Regions from separate parts of the Homo sapiens genome. Here all the other regions are linked to region 1. The links are contacts of gene promoters, found by promoter capture Hi-C in blood cells and fetal thymus (Javierre and others, 2016). All regions are on one chromosome and are shown on one strand. The core of a region is centred on a gene start or on the middle of the fragment in contact, and the rest is flanking DNA. Distances in the headings are between cores, read along the strand shown.

The links. The method cuts DNA at HindIII sites, captures the fragments that hold promoters and counts their contacts. A CHiCAGO score of 5 or more calls a contact.
Region 2: a fragment that was not itself captured here is called in contact with the fragment with the promoter of MCTP1-AS1 in region 1 in 6 of 17 cell types (M2 macrophages, megakaryocytes, erythroblasts and 3 more); the score reaches 9.3 in M2 macrophages.
Region 3: a fragment that was not itself captured here is called in contact with the fragment with the promoter of MCTP1-AS1 in region 1 in 6 of 17 cell types (M2 macrophages, megakaryocytes, endothelial precursors and 3 more); the score reaches 8.2 in M2 macrophages.

Annotation. Positions count from the first base shown.
Region 1 is chr5:94,976,814-94,981,496 of GRCh38, forward strand. MCTP1-AS1 (MCTP1 antisense RNA 1) reads left to right here and starts at 1,885. Exons shown (of 2, transcript NR_189169.1): 1 at 1,885-2,794; 2 at 4,011-4,080. All of the region lies in intron 2 of MCTP1 (multiple C2 and transmembrane domain containing 1), which reads right to left. The HindIII fragment of the contact is 7,189 bases long and covers 1-4,683 here.
Region 2 is chr5:95,265,116-95,269,798 of GRCh38, forward strand. All of the region lies in intron 1 of MCTP1 (multiple C2 and transmembrane domain containing 1), which reads right to left. Among named protein-coding and RNA genes, the nearest start is that of MCTP1, 18 kb to the right of the region's middle. The HindIII fragment of the contact is 3,351 bases long and covers 123-3,473 here.
Region 3 is chr5:95,248,193-95,252,875 of GRCh38, forward strand. All of the region lies in intron 1 of MCTP1 (multiple C2 and transmembrane domain containing 1), which reads right to left. The region is part of intron 6 of LOC105379085 (a long non-coding RNA gene); the gene reads left to right. Among named protein-coding and RNA genes, the nearest start is that of MCTP1, 35 kb to the right of the region's middle. The HindIII fragment of the contact is 2,288 bases long and covers 684-2,971 here.

The sequences.
Region 1 (4,683 bases), core at 635-3,134:
AAAGAGAAGAAAATTACCTCATAATAAAGGCCAGATGTGAAAATCCCATAGCTAATATCATACTCAATGGTGAGAAACTGAAAGACTTTTTTCTAAGATAAGGAACACGATGCCCACTCTCACCACTTCCATTCAACATAGGACTAGAAGTCCTATCCAGAGGAATTGGACAAGAAAAGGAAATAAAAGCTATCCAAATCTGAAAAGGAGAAGTAAAATTGGCCCTGTTTGCAGATGATGTCATCTTACACATAAAAAACAGAAGATTCCACAACAAACTGTTAGAATAAATAAGCAAGTCAAGTAACATTGCAGGATACAAAATCAACATACAAAATCAATTGCATTTTTATACACTAACAATGAACTATCTGAAAAGGAAATGAAGAAAAAGAATTGTGTCTACATTATCCCTCAAAATAATAAAATACTTAGAAATAAGCTCAACTAAGAAGGTAAAAGACTTGTACACTGAAAACTATAAAATGTTAATGAAAGAAATTAAAGAAGACACTAATAAATGAAAAGTCATCTTGTGTTCATGAATTGAAAAATGGAATATTGTTAAAATGTACATACTACCCAAAGCAATCTATAGATTCAATGAAATCTCTATCAAATTCCAATGATATTTTTTACAGAAATAGAAAAAAAAAACCCTAAAATTCATATGGAACCACAGATGACCCCGAATAGTCAAAAAAAATCTTGAGAAAGAAAAACAAAGCTGGAGGCATCATACTTCCTGATTCAAAATATATTACAAAGCTACAGTAATTAAAACAGCATGGTACTGTGAAAAAGACAGACATATAGTCCAAGGAACAGAATGAAAATCAATCCATGCCTGTATGGTAAACTGACCTTCAACAAGGGTGCCAGGAATACAAAATAGGGAAAGGATAGTCTTCAACGAATAGCTTTTGAAAACTGTATATTCACATGCAGAATAATGAAACTGGACTCTTATCTTACCCCATATACATAAATCAATACAAATGGATTAAAAACTTAAATATAAGTCATGAAACTATAAAACAGGGAAAAACCTTCATGACATTAGTTTTGTCAATGATTGCGTGAGTATGACACCAAAAGCACAGGAAACAAAAGTAAAACCAGGCAAATGGGACTAGAGGAAATATCTGCAAATCATATATCAGATAAGGGGTTAGTTTCCAATATATAAGGAATTTCTACAACACAATAGCAAAAAAACCTAATAATCTGATTTTAAAACTGGGCTAAGTCTGGAATAGACATTTCTCCAAAGAAGACATACAAATGGCCAACAGGTATATGAAAAGATGCTGTTACCAAACATCAGGGGAATGAAAATCAAAAATACAATGAGACATCACCTGACACCTGGTAGGAAAACTATCAACACGTGTTGGTGAGGATGTGAAGAAATCTGAACCCTTGTACACTGTTGGTGGGAATGCAAAATGGTGCAGTTACTGTGGAAAACAATATGGAGATTTCTAAAAAAAAATAAAAATAGAGCTACCATATGATTTAGCAATCTGACTTTTTAGTATTTATCTAAAAGAACTGAAATCAGGATCTTAAAGAGAAATAAGCACTCCCATATTCATTGCAACACTATTTACAATAACCAAGACATAGAAGCAACCTAAATGTTCATCAATGAATGCATGCATAAAAAGAAGATGTGGTATATATATATAATGGAATATTATTCAGACTGAAAAAAGAAGGAAATCCTGCAATATGTGACAACATGGATGAAACTTGAAGACATTATGCTATATACCAGCCACAGAAGGACAAATACTGCATGATTTCACTTACATCAGATATCTAAAATAGTCAAACTCATTGAATCAGAAAGTAGAATGGTGGATGCCAAGGGCTGGTAGTAGGGGTGGGGAATGGGGTGTTTCCAGTCAATGGGCATAAAGTCTCAATTACACAAGATGAATACGTTTTTGAGATCTGCTGTACAACATTGCTCCTATATTAATATTGTACTATATGCCTAAAAATGTGTTAAGAGTGTAGATCTCATGTTAAGTGTTCTTACCACAATAAAATAAATTTTTTTAAAAAACCAAGATCATTGGGTGTGATCATTGGCACACAGAAGCCTACTGCCTACTGAGTTTTTGAGAGAAAGAACTTAGCTGTTTGAGATCCCTGACATTACCCTAGTAGGAAGCAGGATATGAAAGATGTACAATCCCCAAGGAGAGCAAGCTCCTTCACACCCATTTCAGACATGGCCATAGAGGACAATGAATAAGAAATAGATCCCCAAATTAAGGGGCCAGTTGCCACGGAGAACAACAAACAAGAGGATTCTTCCCAGACAGAAAAGTTCTAATCAAACAATTTTCCTACTCTCCAGGTTAAGAGGCCTTCATCTGGCCTCTTTATGGACATGGGGATTTCAGAATTTATACTGACAAGTAACTTGTGCCCCCCATGATTTCTACCATTGTATGTTGGATGTGTATAGGGAGACTGTAGGCAGATTCTTAGTTCCGAGGGCTACAAGGAACCACATTCAGACCTGACAGAGAATATCCTTTTATTCAGAGATCCTGAACTTAGAGCTGTATACGGTGATCAGATGGGACTTTGACTGTTTCTCTTGGAGAAGAGTGAATGTCTTCTATATGCAGGAAGAGTGAAACATATTTGGTGACCAGAGGTAGAGTATAGCCAAGAATGCTACTGCTTGGCAATATGAGCTATAGCTTCCGGCCTCCTTTAAAATTAGGAGTGGTCAATTGGCTGCATTCTGGTCAACTGAATATAAATGCAAAAGGTAATGTGTGCCAATTTTAAGCCTGGCCTATAAAAATCTTCCCATGTGGGATTCTTACTCTACTCTGTCAACCACAGGCTTTGAGGACCAAAAGGGAGATAGTAACACTAGATAGAAAAAAAACACTAGGGGCCCGTGATGACTGTGTGGAGCAGAACTAGAGCCCCACCCTCCAACACGGACACATATTAAACCATAATAAGAGCAAGAAAAACAGCTTTTCTTAGGTTAAATCATTGATATATCGGGTTTATCTGTTTAGTTATATATCTTAACAAATACAAAATTTAAACCACAACAAATCATGATTATATTGTTTGGTGCTAATAATAAGGAAAATGTAAGATTTAAGGCCCTTAAAGAAAGGACTCCACTGACATTTAGTTTTAAAAAATACCTTAAAAATTCAACTTGTGAAATATCAAGTGATCAACAGTTTACTCCAATAATGATGCTTTATAAGAATTAGTACTAAACATATAGTTTTAGGAACTTTTAATAAAATTACCCTTACCATTTTGTTGGAATTTAGTGACATTTAAAACAGTACTCCCAGATATATTTTAGATAAATCATTTATAATCTTTTAATTGTTTTCCCCCTACTTTAACAACAGCAGCAAAGCAAAACAAAGTCATATTATGCAAATGATTCATCTTCCCACTTTCCAATGCCTTCCCGTCACAACTAAGTGATGAATGAATAATCTTATAGAAACAAAAAGTCTTAGCATTGGAAGAGACTTCGTCCAGTCTTTCATTAATACAAAAATTCTAGTTACAAACCCAGTAACATATGACACATGATCATATAGACGGAATGTAGAGGCAGCTTGAATGCTTCCAGCACAGCACTGGAATTCAATGAAATATTGAATTTCCTTTTGAAATTCAATATTTGTTGAAAACATATGTTATGTGATATAGTATATTTTGATTTTGGACAGGTATGTCATAAAATGTATGTTTAAAGAGCTAATCTTCCTCATCTGAATCTTTAGAGCTTTAAGGAAATGGCTAGTCCTTATTTCATAGACACCCTTTCCAAGCATGTGTAGTCCTAAAGACATTGTCACTGGCACGATTCTATATTTGAGGTCATTAAAAAAAAGATACAATAAGCTGATCTTCTTATCCATGTTCTTCAATGAGAGAAGTTTTAAAGGGTATGCTTCCACAGATGAGCAACTAAAAGTTTTTTTCGTTTTAAAATACAGGTTTAAAGGAAATGATTACAGTTGCCACCATCTCCTTGATTATTAATTAAAGGCTTTTCTTCAATTATCATATTATTCCATATAGTCAATGGTTATATAAGTTTTATAAGTAAAAAAGATAAGCAAAGCAAAATGTTAACACCTACCATGTAACTAAAATACTTGAGGAACAATGAAAAAAAAACCTTCACCCCTTATGCTAAAAACAGTTAATAAGTGTTTAATGTGACAAGTGACTTCAAAACTTGCAATTATCCTGCTAAAGCATGGCGTCACTGATAGAGACAAAGACGGCAGATATAGTATAGTGGTAGGTGGTGTGGGTCCCTGTTCTTATCTTCAACACAGTATTCCCTTCAACTCTCTGGCAGGGTGTGGGAAAAGTCCGAGGTTTCCACTGGTAAGTTTAATAAAAGATGTAGAACCAATCTAAGTTATACACTTCCCAAGGGACACACTCTTTTTATGCCTTCTGTCTTTTCTGTTAAACTTGCTACTTTTCCAATGCCATTAACATCCTATTACTTTGTTAAGGAAGACAGGGCTCTTGCATATTACAAGATTTGTGCTAGCTCTCAGAGTGAATAAATTCTCCTGCTAGTATGATTTTCCTTTCCTGAAATACACTCACACATTCAACAATATTTACTGGATGTCAACATGTGTTAGGTGC
Region 2 (4,683 bases), core at 548-3,047, 290 kb after region 1:
TGTTCCCAGTATCATGTGGGGAACTACTGTGTGCCTTTTTAGCTCCCAAGCATGGCCCAGCTGGCAGGACATGAGGAGTCAGCCCCAGCAGCAGCTCAGTCTCCTTGGCCTTCTGTACAACAAGCTTCAGTCCAAGAGGTGTTCACATTCCACCCTCAGCTCTACCCAGCTTCCTTTTCATAGGCTGCTGCCCCAAGCAGAGAATCGGGCTTCCAGGCAAGGAGCTATAAGTTAGGCCTGTGGTTGGCTTATTTTAAAGGAAGCAATCGTTTGTGCTTCCATTTATCAAAGCCCAGAGTGCACAAGCACAGATCCATATCCTTCTGAATCATCCACCACCTCTCAGGTTTGAGAACTGCCCTCTAACAAAGCTCTTTCTTCACGGTGATTTCAGACTGCAGGCTTCTACATTTCCCAGCACATTTATAAGATGGCCATGAAATCAATGAGAAGAAGTGAACAGAGAGCTGAGAGTACACTACTGCTGGTGCAAACCAGACCAATTGTTCAAGCAGTTGTCGCAAATGAGGTCATTAAGCCTCTGTATTTATCTCCCAAGACACAGGGATTCCCATGGTTTTATTTACTTAAAAGTGGAATGTCTGTGCTACCTGGTAGTGACATTTATCTTTTACATATATATGCTACCTCCCCATCTAAGAGAAAAAATCTCTGGAGTGCAGGAGTATTGGGTTCCCAGAATCTAGAACAGATTTTCAATTCCTTATGTGTGTAGGCGGCAGTCAGCAAATGTTGACAACTGAGGAGGATAATCAGAGAGAGCTTCTATTAGATATCTCAGTCTCTGGCAAAGGAATCTCGCTTCTGAAAGGCCCAGACCCAAAGAAGAGTCTCATATAAGAATGCATAAGAAGGAAACAGAAATCAACTTCTAGGAAACAGAACCCCATATTAGCAAGAAACTCCAAATTTGGGTTCCCCTCACACCCTGGTCTCTTTGGTAAATGCTGCAGGCTACAGCTTCCTTTTTATTTCTGGGCATATCTAGACCTACTGTTAGGAGGCCAGTCTACAGATTTTTCCTCCTAAAAATCAATCCAAGTGCCCTGCAAGGTTCTAGGATAAATAAATATGCAGGCCATGGTTGAAATTTCAGAGACTCAAGTTTTAACTTTTATAATGCTAATGGAGCCATCTAATTTTCATAAGAATTGTTACTGAGTCTTCCTTTTACCCAAGGGTATTAACTGAGGGTTCTGGAGTCCATGGATTGAAAGTCATGAGTTTCCTTCCTTGAGGAAGAATGCACAATTCTGGTTTTGTGTACATTTCTATGGGGAAAATACCACAACCTTTGTTAGTTTCTGAAAAGGGTTTATGATACCCAAATAGAACGAGAATTACTGTTTAAATCTGTTTACTGTTTGAATAGTATAATGTTTACTTGGTCATGACTCCAGTAAAATACTACATGAAGAACAACAGAAAGACTACATCACATTTTTCCATAATAGCAGATAAAAGAATACATAGGTTCTTGATACCCTTTAGACTTGGGCATGGCTTCTGTCATGAAAATTTTTACTAGATGCTATTTCCTAGTCCAGATGGCAGTAATGGTTGGATGCTTAAAGCAGTCCATGTTCATATTGGTCATTGTAGTAGCTGGCTGGGGAGGTCAAAGCAGAGATTGGCAAACCTCAGTCGGGCAGGGCTTGGTACAATTTCTGATCACTCATATTTGCTAGATGTGCTAGAATCCATACCCTGAGCGTTCTCAGAATAGCAAGTAGGCTGGCTTATGTCGCCACTTCAATTTTGATTGTGTGACAGACTACAGTCTCCATGAAATATTTTGACATTGCCTTCTTTTCCCTCCTATAACATTGTATAACAAATGTAATGGTGAGCTTTAACACACTTTAACTTTTCCTTCTTGCTTGAGAACATTGCTGCAAATCTGTTTCATAAATATGAATATTGGCTATACATGGAAATATAAAATTTAGATTTTATGTCTGAGAAAATATACAGGAAAATATGAACAAATTAAATCCCCTTTACCATGCTTTAGATCTGTTCAACGGAAAGTCTTCCTAATTAACCCATGATTATGTTAACAAACAATACACATTTTTAAATGTACACCTCCTTATAGAACCCTCTCCAAAGTTTTTCATTTTTTTCCCACCCTAACTTCAGGAAAGAAGTTTAAATCTCCTGAAAATGTATTTTTTTATAATTTACAGTTGTAACATCTGGATCACTGAGCTTTATCTAATTTTCATCTCTACCTAGGCTCGGAAATGTGCTGTCTAGGAGAAATCTCTCCCCTGAGCACTGATAATGAGACATCAGATTGCATTTCTTGCCTTCATTTACTTTCCAATAGTACTCAATAAAAAAGCAATGAAATGGCATGTTTTTCCAGGGGGAAAGACACTTTCATCCTCTAGGTATTTCTATTTTTGTCGACATTTTTAAAATGTCATATCCTAATAAGGAAAACATAGCTCCAACCTACTTCCCTATCTCTTTACAAGACAACTTTGTGAGTACAATGTGGTTCCACACATAGAAGCAAAGGAAAGCTATTCCCAGACCAAGGACATGAAGTCTCCTGAAGATGGTTCTTCCCTTCAAGGCTGAGCATCTGGGTTCTCAAAATTGCTTCAGTCCTTGCTAAAGTCCAAAATCTCCCCAAGATCTGCAAGGTTCTGCATAATCTGGTCCCTGCCACTAATCCCAGACCCATCTCCCCCAACACACACACACCTTCCCTCTTAATCACCAAATCCCCACTGCCCAGGCAATCTTCCTCTAAGTGCTTCCTGCTGTGGTTCCTTCTGCCCAGAACTGTCTGCCACATCCCTGCCTTCCCTCCACCCTGAAGAAATCTGACCAACTCCTATTAGTTATTTTCATTCGATCCTAAATGCTTCTTCAGGGAAACCTGATCTGATCCTCCCTCTCTCAAGATTGGGTTGGGACTTCTTATCATACAATTCATTCCTACAATTCTCTGTACTCCTCTGATTCAGTTATCACAATTGTAATTGGTAACAATTTGCATATTTTTTAATGTAATGGATGTTTCTTCTATAAGATCGTAAGCTCTATGTGAGCAGGAACTGTCTTATTATCAAGGTATTAACAAGATACTATGTCTACCACAACATAGATATTTCATAAATATTTGAGGAAGGGAGAAAGAGAAAGATGGTTACTAAAATCGTTGGTACTTAATTGGAAGGAGATCTTCCAGCTACACATACATATTTGGGGTTGGTTTATTATATAGAACATTTTAACTGAATATTCTCCCCATTCCAAGACATCTGGAAAACAGCTACAAGACAATACTCATGAGCAGATGTAGGGGATCGATCAAGGTGGTGGGAGTAATTATAAAGATAAAGTTATAGGAAATAGACACGAACCTTCTTGGAAGGCCAGGAGGTTTGCATAGCTTCAGTAAAAGATTTGGCTGAAGGCAGCTGAATTCTCTTAAAAGCTTGGGGTATAGATACACAGGAATGTAGAGGAGTTTATCTAAATAGCTTACTCATGTGGTCCTAAGACCAACAACCTGTGATCATCTGTGGGCACATGACTGCTCTCTACTAGGGAGGTCGGCAACGTTAATCACCCTTTAGTGGTGTTTACTGGAGACCTTTGTCATTTAATCTGTCCTAAATAAATGTGAACTTCACCAGCTTATTGGGGCCAAAGCTGCGGACTCAGACAGCAGAGCCCCTTAGCTGCACTGAGAGGCAAAATACCTGTGTCAGTGTATGTCTTTCATCCATCGCTGGGTCAGGGTCTGTGGGTTGGACCCGGCAAGCAGACCTAGCAGCTTTTCAATATTGAAGAAAGCCACCTATAACATAGCAGTTAGACTCTTGAGTTTTGGAGCCAGTTCTGAGCTCTGCTGTTTACCAGCTTTGTGACCTTGAGAAATGTCCTCATTTTTTCTAAGCCTCCACTGATTTATCTATAAAATGAGGCTAAGAATTCCCACTGCTTTACTGTTGTCACAAAGATTAAATGAAGTAATGTCTGCAAATCAATTAAGACAGCAACTGACGTAAGACTAAGATTTCCATGCTGGTATTATTATTATTAAGAAACATTAGAAGTTGTGCCAAATTCAGAAGACATTATCTCACACCTTGCTTTCTCCTTGTTAAAGGAATATACCCCAAATGGACATCTTTACAAAACAACTAGATGTTCAGAAAAGAATTTGTTTTCCTGTCCAAAGATCATAACTCCTAGACTAAATATGGAATGTATAGCATTATTTTTCAGAGGAGTTTAACAACATGATTTGAAGTCATGATACATGTATAGAACTCACAAGAAGAAAGATCTGAAAATATTCACTTATGAGGTCTCAAAACTGAGCCTGCAAATAAACAAACTAACCCACTCTCATTCACTGGAAACTTTTCTTCAACTAATGGTGGCACCTTCCTCTAGCCTTCTCTCCAAAACAATGGAAAGACCTATCAGCAAGGCTGGTGATAAGGGACAGTCAGACTCAATCACAAATCATGGGTTTGGGTACCAAGCATGTATTTAGCACTGGCGTGGTGATGTGGCCTCACTAATGGTGAAGCAGTGGGTAGCCTGGAAATTATGGCCTTGGTAGCAATCAGATGTCTGTCAATATCTAGCTTTGCCACTTACTAACTATGGACAAAACCAGGACTGCCGAAA
Region 3 (4,683 bases), core at 578-3,077, 270 kb after region 1:
AAATAAAGGGTATTCGACTAGGAAAAGAGGAAGTCAAATTGTCTCTGTTTGCAGATGACATAATCATATATTTAGAAAACCCCATCGTCTCAGCCCAAAATCTCCTTAAGCTGATAAGCAACTTCAGCAAAGTCTCAGGATACAAAATCAATGTGCAAAAATCACAAGCATTCCTATACACCAATAATAGACAGAGAGCCAAATCATGAGTGAACTCCTATTCACAATTACTACAAAGAGAATAAAATACCTAGGAATCCAAGTTACACAGGATGTGAAGGATCTCTTTAAGGAGAACTACAAACCACTGCTCAATGAAATAAAAGAGGACACAAGCAAATGGAGGAACATTCCATGCTCATGGATAGGAAGAATCAATATCGTAAAAATGGCCAGAATGCCCAAGGTAATTTATAGATTCAATGCTATCCCCAACAAGCTACCTCTGACTTTCTTCACAGAATTGGAAAAAACTACTTTAAAATTCAGATGGAACCAAAAAAGAGCCCACATAACCAAGACAATCCTAAGCAAAAAGAACAAAGCTGGAGGCATCACGCTACCTGACTTCAAACTATACTACAAGGCTACAGTAACCAAAACAGGATGGTATGGTACCAAAACAGATATATAGACCAATGGAACAGAACAGAGGCCTCAGAAATAACATCTACAACCATCTAAGCTTTGACAAATCTGACAAAAACAAGCAATGGAGGAAGGATTCCCTGTTTAATAAATGGTGCTGGGAAAACTGGCTAACCATAGGTAGAAAGCTGAAACTGGACCCCTTCCTTACACCGTATACAAAAATTAACTCAAGATGGATTAAAGACTTAAATGTAAGACCTAACACCATAAAAACCCTAGAAGAAAACCTAGGCAATACCATTCAGGACATAGGCATGAGTAAAGACTTCATGACTAAAATACCAAAAGCAATGGCAACAAAAGCCAAAATAGACAAATGGGATCTAATTAAACTAAAGAGCTTCTGAACAGCAAAAGAAACTATCATCAGAGTGAACAGGCAACCTACAGAATGGGAGAAAATCTTTGCAATCTACCCATCTGACAAAGGGCTAATATTCAGAATCTACAAAGAACTTAAACAAATTTACAATTAAAAAAAACCCCATCAGAAAGTGGGTGAAAGATATGAACAGATACTTCTCAAAAGAAGACATTTATGTGGCCAAAAAACATATGAAAAAATGCTCATCATCACTGGTCATCAGAGAAATGCAAATCAAAACCAAAATGAGATACCATCTCACGCCAGTTAGAATGGCGATCATTAAAAATTCAGGAAGCAACAGATGATGGAGAGGATGTGGAGAAATAGGAACGCTTTTCACTGTCGGTGGGAGTGTAAATTAGTTCAACCATTGTGGAAGACAGTGTGGCAATTCCTCAAGGATCTAGAACTGGAAATACCATTTGACCCAGCGATCACATTACTGGGTATATACCCAAAGGATTATAACTCATGCTACTATAAAGACTCTTGCACACGTATGTTTACTGTGACACTATTCACAATAGCAAAGACTCGGAATGATCCCATATGTCCATCAGTGATAGACTGGATTAAGAAAATGTGGCACATATACATCATGGGATACTATGCAGCCATAAAAAAGGATGAGTTCATATCCTTTGCAGGGACATGGATGAAGCTAGAAACCATCAATCTAAGCAAACTATCACAAGGACAGAAAAGCAAGCACCGCATGCTCTCACTCATACGTGGGAGTTGAACAACAAGAACACATGGACACAGGGCGGGGAACATCACACACCAGGGCCTGTGGGAGAGTGGGGGCCTGGGAGAGGGATAGCATTAAGAGAAATACCTAATGTAAATGACGAGTTGATGGGTACAGCAAACCAACATGGCACATGTTTACCTAAGTAACAAACCTGCACGTTGTGCACATGTACCCTAGAACTTAAAAGTATAATAAAAAAATAATAAAATAAAAATAATGAAGATAAGCAAAGGGCACATTTATTTGTAGCCTGTTACGAAATGTTGAGTTCCCTAAGCTCAAGTTTTCTGTGTGATTCAGATGTACAGCAACTACCTGAGCCACTCTGCATCGCCCCATGGGACTTGGGGGCTGAGGGAATGAACATGAATGTGAAGCTCATATTATTGTTATGTCAGGAATCATAAAGTCCTTTGTTTCTAATCCAGGAACTTCGTGTTGTGTGTCAGTATACATGAAACTGTGGTGGCTAACTGGTTAGCTTGCAAGTATAATAACATTTCAGACCCTTCACAGTTTTTGACAGAGGAGAGGAGACGGTTTTTATGTTTAGTATAATGCAAAGAAAATAAGATTTAGAGTCAGGCTGATATAAGTTTGAATTTTGGTCCATCCACATCCTAGCTGGGCAACTGTAAGCCAGTTATTTAACTTTTGGATTTCTTTTTCTCCTCTATAAAAATGAATACAATGATATAAAAATGGAAGCGTTCTTGAGTACAATTTAAACAGAATAACTTATGTGAAATGCCTAGAACAATACTTAGCACAAAAATGCTTTCCTCTTTAATGATATTTTCATTTTCTACTTTTTCCTTATAGCTTTATTATTATATTTTTAAAGTGCATAAATATGTCTTAACACTACTAATAGGTAGGCTTACATGGAAAATGCTGAATCTCCTCAGTATGTAGTATATGAGCTACTCAACAAATATCTGTTAAATCAGTCAAGGACTAGTTGATAAGAATAGCTTATTTTATTCACTCACTAATTCATGCATCCTTATTGAGATGTTATTATGCTCCAGGCACTGAACTAGGAAGCAGAGATTTAGCAAAGAAAGCCCATGCTCTCATGAAACTTACTTTTGGTAAACACAGATTTAGCAAACACAGACGAGAATTTCGGACAGAGACAAGTGCTATAAAACAGCAGAAGCAAGAAAGAGCATGGGCGGCTGGTGAGGTTTAGGAGAAGCTTCTATGAGAAGGGGTTACTTTATCTCCCACCTGGCAATAGAAAGGGGCCAGCAATCAAATATCTGAAATAAGCACTTTGCAAGCAGAAGGGAAAGCAAGCGCAAAGACCCTGAAGTGAGAACAAGCTTGACCATTAGAGGAACCTAAAGAATGTCAGTATGCCTACTTCTCATAGAAGGTGGGAGGGACGAGAATAGTCAAGAGGTTCAGGTTGAAGAAGGAGGCAGAGGCCAGATCATGCAGGTACTCATAGCATGGTACAGATTTGGATTTCATGAGTCATTATGAAAGAATGAAAGAAATTAAGAAAGAATTACTCACTAGAAGAGTAATTTTTTTAAACACGTTTCTCAAATTTAGGGAAAGTAACTCCATAAATACATGTGGATGGTGGAGTTTAAGTTGAGATTTCTTATCTTGCTAGGGGATTCCCTATATTAATATTATTTATGTTTGCTCTTGAAATATCCCTGGGAATACACTGTAGTTGAGAAGGAACCAGAATTTAAAACAAGCAAAATTTCTCTTATAGTAATAATAAGTAATATATGGTGCTTACTATTATAGTACCTGGCTCTGTTCTAAGCAGTTTATGTATATTTAGTCATCCAATCCTCACAATAATTCTATAAACAACAGTAATAATAGATACTATTATCCACAATTAATAGATAAGGAAACTGAGGTGCAAAGAGATTCAGAAACTTACCCCAAATCACATATCTAGTAAGTGTTGAGTGCATATAATTAAAAACAAAATCTTTTCCCAACCCAGAAAACTTCTCCACAAAGGTAGAAGAGAAAGAATACAATTTTATTATTGAATAAGCATCAAAGCAGAATATCATACATCACAGGCAATCTGCTAAGAGATTACAAAGACAGAAAGAAATCGTACCCTTTTTATATTTATATAGCCAAGCAGATACAACCCATACATACATGTTCTCAAGATAAACAATGACTAGTCCTCAAGGAAGGGGACTTGACAGCACCATTTGTCATGCACAGTTCATCCTAAATTAGCCTGGTATTGGGGTGACCATGTGTGTTACTAATTGGCTTTACCCAAAGGAAAAATTAACTTCTCCTATCTCTATGACAGAAGGTAATTTAGGAACTAAGAATCCCCCACTGAAGTTAGGCTGCTACCCTCCCACAAAAACTGGAAGATAGGGGCACTATCTTCCTTGATTGCATTTCAAAAAGATGGTTCTCTGTTCTCTGATCCTTGAGAAAGACATTCCTGGGTCACAGAACTCACCAGAGCCTTATTTAGTTTTTAAAAAGATGTATATAGATTTCAAAGAGATAAAGAATGTGCAATTACAAGTTTTCTAAAGTAAATGCTCTAAGAAAAGGGAAGGGGTAGAAATCTTTTCCCTTATTTTTAAGAAGAAGAATTAAGCCTCCAATTTTTAATTTGTATTTGCCCTTAAATAAGTAGCAGAGCTGAGATCTGAACCTACACAGTCTGGGTCTAGGATCTACTTTCACACTTTAACATTTCTATTTCTTAGGCGCTCCATTCCTATTTTTCCCTATTTTTTTATTTCTTAGGCACTCATTCCTATTTTCCCTAATTTTCCTATTAAGAATGTGTAGAGTCATATTCTTAATTCTCATTTTTTCTGTCTTTGCTTTGACAAAAAAAGTATCTAGATAGGGCAGAGCAAGCTAAAATCATATATATTTGGCCCCATACTGT